2 separate regions of the Homo sapiens genome follow, and region 2 is linked to region 1. The links are contacts of gene promoters, found by promoter capture Hi-C in human tissues and cell types (Jung and others, 2019). All regions are on one chromosome and are shown on one strand. Each heading gives the region's core, a stretch centred on a gene start or on the middle of the fragment in contact. The rest is flanking DNA. Distances are from core to core; before and after follow the strand shown.

What was found. The method cuts DNA at HindIII sites, captures the fragments that hold promoters and counts their contacts. A contact is called where the count stands out against the background at its distance.
Region 2: a fragment that was not itself captured here is called in contact with the fragment with the promoter of RCAN2 in region 1 in 2 of the 25 tissues and cell types used here (aorta and hippocampus).

What each region holds. Positions count from the first base shown.
Region 1 is chr6:46,490,118-46,492,776 of GRCh38, forward strand. RCAN2 (regulator of calcineurin 2) reads right to left here and starts at 1,332. Exons shown (of 5, transcript NM_001251974.2): 1 at 1,056-1,332. It overlaps RCAN2-DT (RCAN2 divergent transcript), which reads left to right and starts at 1,935. Exons shown (of 3, transcript NR_125837.1): 1 at 1,935-2,010. RefSeq lists silencers at 1,295-1,384, 1,895-1,954. The HindIII fragment of the contact is 8,830 bases long and covers 1-2,659 here.
Region 2 is chr6:46,587,038-46,589,696 of GRCh38, forward strand. CYP39A1 (cytochrome P450 family 39 subfamily A member 1) reads right to left here. Exons shown (of 12, transcript NM_016593.5): 9 at 997-1,092; 10 at 40-128. Among named protein-coding and RNA genes, the nearest start is that of CYP39A1, 64 kb to the right of the region's middle. The HindIII fragment of the contact is 3,147 bases long and covers 1-2,659 here.

The DNA.
Region 1 (2,659 bases), core at 82-2,581:
TGAAACTTGAGTTGCACTGTTAAAGTTGTCCTACATTTCCTAAAGCCTCCCCTCTGCATGATAAGTTGAGTGAAATTCTGGCTGAAGGGAGAGAGAAGTGTGAGCTGGAATGCTGTGACATCCCTTCATCTCCAATTGTGGAAAACTGTGGGAATGCATATTAAAGGAACCCCAGAAACTTTTGTTTTTACTAAACTGAGACTTAAAAAAACTTCATTTGGCAGTTGAACACCTCTATCCCATTGTAAGAAACAGGAAAGATTCAAAGCATGCATTCTGCTATAATTCATTTTGGGATAAGAAATAGGCAGAAGTACCTCGAAGAATAAATCATTAACTAAAAGGCAAACCGAGGCACCCTGGAAACCAGCGAGACCTGGAGGCGGCCGAGGGATCAGGCGGCTGGGATTTGCCTGTTCCCTCTGGTGACTTCTGGAGCGAAGCATCCCACAGGCAGGACGAACCCGGCACACTGCGCTCCGCTCCATTTCACTTTTCAAACTTGAAGTTATTTTTAGATGACCCAAGGCCGCTAATCCCAAGCAGGACAATTCTCAGCCCGCTGCACCTCAGTGCACCTACCCCCTCCCCAGCCTCTGCATTGGGAAGAAGGGATCTCTCGATCTTCTTTGCTCTCTGCATCCAGTTAGTCTCTTCTAGACCCTCTCTAAGCCTCAGTCCCGGGGATCACAGGCGTCATCCTCGCTCCTTCACTTATGCACCTGCTGCTGCTTCCAGGAAGGCAAACCCCCGGGCCACGGGCAGTGGGGAAGGGGCTCCTTTGGACCCGCGCCCCCTAGAGGGGGGTCGCGGGAGATCTCCGTCCCCACGGCCGCAGCCGGGACTGACCACAGATCTGGAGACAAACCCCACCCCCGCCACTGCCCCCACCCCCGCCACCGCCCCCGCCCCCGCCCCCGCCCCCGCCCTGCACCCAGACCCGGCCCGGAGACCAGATCCCCGCCGCGGACCCCCGGCACGACCCCGGGGCTGCTGTCAGCCCCGGCGGGACGGGGTGCCTGGGCGAGCCTGGCCGGCGCGGTTACATAACCGACCTGCTGGGCGTCCGCGATGCGCCGGCGGAGGCGGAGGCGGAGGCGGCGGCTGGGGCGTCTACGGGGGCCAGCTGCTAGCGCGCGGCGCTGCCTGCTCACCTGCCCGCCGGTGCGAGCGCGTGGGGGCGGCGCGGTGCCCGCGGGCCTTTGCGTGGGGCCGTACGCGGCGCGGCGCGCCCCGCCTCCCTCTCTCTGCCGCCGTGGGTCAGTGGGATTCTGCCTGCTGCCCGCTCCTCCCCGCAACCTCCGCCGCCGTCACCCGGGACAAAGCGGCTCCAGGGAGGGGCTGAGCCGGCGGCTCTCGCAGGAGCCGGCGGAGATGGGCGCGTCCCCAGCTCCGACTCATCGGGCCAACCTCCAATCAGACCCAGGGAAACCGAAAGCCCCTGTCTGGCCTCTTCTCATCTCCTCCCTCCTGACCCGGCGCCCTCCCCAGTCCCCTACCCACCGCACCTCCGGGGCTCTCACCCTGCCCTCAGCCCCGCACCCCCTCCTTTCCACTTCAGGTGCCCGGGAGGGCGCAGGAGCCTCCGGGCACCTGGCGTGGGAGCCTGGCTGCAGGAGTCCCGGCCTCAGCGGGAAGAGGCTCCTCGGGGTCCCATACTAAGCTGAGGGTGAGGGGGCAGCGACAGCCCAGAAGAAATGGTCAGAGAAGCAAACTGTGGTGGGGGAGTACTGGGAGAAAGACTCTTCTTACCAGATGTCTGAGCCCCCCGACTCTGGCTAACTGAGGAAATGTCGGGGAGCCCCTGGATGGTCCTCCCGGGCTTCTGCGCTTGGTGGGCGCTGGCGCCCTCTGGCTGGAGCCCTGCGCCCGGCCCAGCCCAGGCCGCTGAGGGTGCCCTGCGCGGGCTTCACAGCTTTGCCAGGATTTGCAGCCATCAGACCTGAGGACAGAAGGGTTCGGGCTGCAAGGAATCCTATTGTGTGAGAGCCATGACACAGTGAGTGGGAGGTTGGTATCCTACAGCAAACGGGACTGAAGGTGAATCGCAATCTAGGGTAGATCTGTTGCTCAACAAAGTTAACCCCAGTAGAAGTCTCTGCTTTACGGAATAAAGCAACTCAAATGGGTAAGGAAGCCTGTGGCTTACGGGTGGCACAGATAGGAACAGGACTGAGTCTCATGGCAAGAGAATGTGAATTATGCAAAAGATCATAGGAGAGTGCGGGAAATTAAAGGAAGGAGGTGTGCAGACCAATCTGAGGGAGGGAGTGAATAACATTTAAATCAGGTTTGTGTTCTGTCATCTTTCGAATTGCTGCATAAATAAGCCGTTTTCTTTTTGCTTTTTATGCCTTTTGATTTTCTGATAACAATATTACGATTGCACTGAAGCAGTCCATTCACAATCATTCTTCACTTACCCACACTACGTTGTTTTTTTCCAAAGTTGACATACAATCACGTTTTGTTTGTTTTCAACAAAAAAAGGTAGACGAGACGTTGGCTCTTCTCTCTGATTAATCTGCATTAACATAAACACAATTTCAGAATTGAAAATGACCTTAGGCTTCCCCTCGTTCAGCCTTCCCCTGGATGCATAAATCTGTAATTAGTCGTTGATTTAGATAATTGCCATTTGGGTTAGAATTGTCTGAAA
Region 2 (2,659 bases), core at 118-2,617, 97 kb after region 1:
AGACTTTCTGGATAAATGTGGCCCAGCTGTCTCACTGACCTTGCAGGACACTGGAACTTCCCGCTTCCAAATGCCATGAAGCAGTCCAAGAAAGAGTGCTTCTCTAAATTTGCCTTTTTCCAACGTTCCTGTGGGAAGAAAACATTTTTTTTTCCAAATCAGCCTTATATAAATAAGCTTAACTTTATTTCTCTAGGCTAAAAATGACCTTGTACAGCTAATCCTTGCATATAAAGTTGCAGGGTTGTTGGTAATTTTTTCCACCCTGTTATTAATATTAGACACAATTGTGTTTCTGGAACATGAACTTATAAATAAAAAGGTTTTTAAAAAATTCTGTTAAGTGGTAAATGTAAATGATAAGGTAAATCAACCACAGAATTGACCTAAGAAGAGGAAGAATATTTATAATAAGGTCTCAGGCTCCGTCATAAAATTGCTCTTGGTAATAAATTTAGTAGTAAGACACTGACATCCCTGCCTGTTAGAAAAAGCTTGGGATGCAGAATGAATGCATCTGGATGCCATTTTTGACAGTTTTACCTAAAGGCAGAGAACAGACTAAATGACCTCTTAACATTCTGTTCGGCCCTGTAACTTTCCAGTTCTAAGAAACAGCAGATCACGGTTTTAATTTGCTTTATTTGTATTTTTTTGTACTCCTTGGAAACCAATGACAGAAGCAATTGCCTGAAGAACATGAAATAAGTCTTCTATCAAAAACAGGCTTATTCACTTGAACATGCCCTTCTGGTTTCATGTAAAATGTATTTTAAAGTTAGAGAAGTTTACTACAAAAACTTTTCTAACTGATTTGTAAATGTTGCACTATCTATATTGCAAATCTGTTCTGTACTTTGTAGTCAACTTTGTTCTTAGTTACGAGAGAAATATGGCTGCTTAATTATATAGTCCTAATTAATTTCTGAATTTACCCTTCTGAAATAAAAAGAAATTAAAATGAAAGAATAATATATACTGAAAGAGATAACTTACAGGTTTGAACAATTCAGGCTCAGGAAAATACTTTGGATTTCTATGCAGCCAAAATGGAGACAACATCAACAAGTCACCAGAAGGAATGATGTAATTCTATAACAGAAAAATCAGCTGCAAATCATTTTTTTGAAATATACTTTAAAGAGAATTTGGGCCACTAAAAATGATGCTACAATTATATTGTGGTGAAGATATACCTTTTATAATTGAATGTGAGAAAATCTAATTTTTAATATCTATATAATTATATAATATCTAATTATAAATAATATAAAATCTAATAATATAGTATCTATATAATTCTGATTTCCATATACATATATTTGGTTACATAGAGGAAATTATATAATTCTGATTCACATGTACATATATTCAGTTATATGGAAGGAAATATTAGCTAAATGTCAAAATTTTAGAAACTAGTATAAGTCCCTTCTAATGTACCTTTTGATGTTTGATATTAGGGTTTGTGGCCAGAGTTCTTGAAGGCAGAAACTACAGTGGAGGCTCAGGTTATGAAACAGAAAAATTGGACTCTGAGACAGGGACAATGGCCATGGTAGCACTGAGAAGAGGGGCAGAGGATGTCCTGTTCTTGTGGATACTAATGACAGTGTTAGAGCAGGGGCAGTGGACTTTTCTTTCCTCAGTCCAGCACCGGTTATTAGGAAAGAAACAAATGAAAAACGACTGGTTAGGAAGACACAGGAAAAGGCAAGTGTTGTGTATTTGTTTGGTTGGGTTTGTGTTTGGGGTCACAGTGCTTGTGGAAATGAGGATAAACAATGTGTTTCCTCAGGTAGTCTACATTATCCTTCCTGATTCATATGACAACAGATTTTCATGATCTATAAACTATACAAAGAACTAAAACCCATTTCACAAAATCTCCCTATCATCACCATGTTCAGGAATCACAGGACAAAGAGATCTCCCAAGTTTTATAATTGCTAGATAGCTACCAACTTTACTAAGGTAGAGATATTTTATTAGGTAATTCCCACTGCCCATCATCATAAGCCACATCTATTTAACCGTGTATAATTTTGAAATGTCCTCAAGATATTTGAAAAACTTTTACTTTAGGTTTACTTATCCAAAGCATAAACACCTTACAATTAAAAACATGTCTTCTGCTGGGTGTGGTGGCTCATGCCTGTAATCCTAGCACTTTGGGAGGCCTTGGTCGGAGGATCCTTTGAGCTCAGGAGTTTGAGACCAGCCTAGGCAACATAGGAAGACCTTGTCTCTACAAAAAAATGAAAAATATTAGCTGGGGATGATGGTGCACCTGTAGTCTCAGCTACTTGGGTGGTTGAGACAGGAGGATTGCTTGAGCCCAGGAGGTTGAGGGTACAGTGAGCTATGATTGTGCCACTGTACTCTAGCCTGGGAGACAGAGTGACATTCTGTCTCGAAGAAAAATAAAAATATGTCTTTTACTGGTAGCTATGAGTGGAGTATGGGTAGGGATGTCATCATTTTTTTAACCCAGGAGAACCCCTGTTGGCTCTAGTGGCAGCTGAGTATTGCTTGAGATTTGGCAATTTCAGAACTGGGAGAGCTGGAGAGACTCAAATCCAAGACTGGGAAGACAGTGAAGCTTTTGCAGGTACCTTCTATCATTTTAAAATAGAGAGACCTGTGAGATCCCAATCCT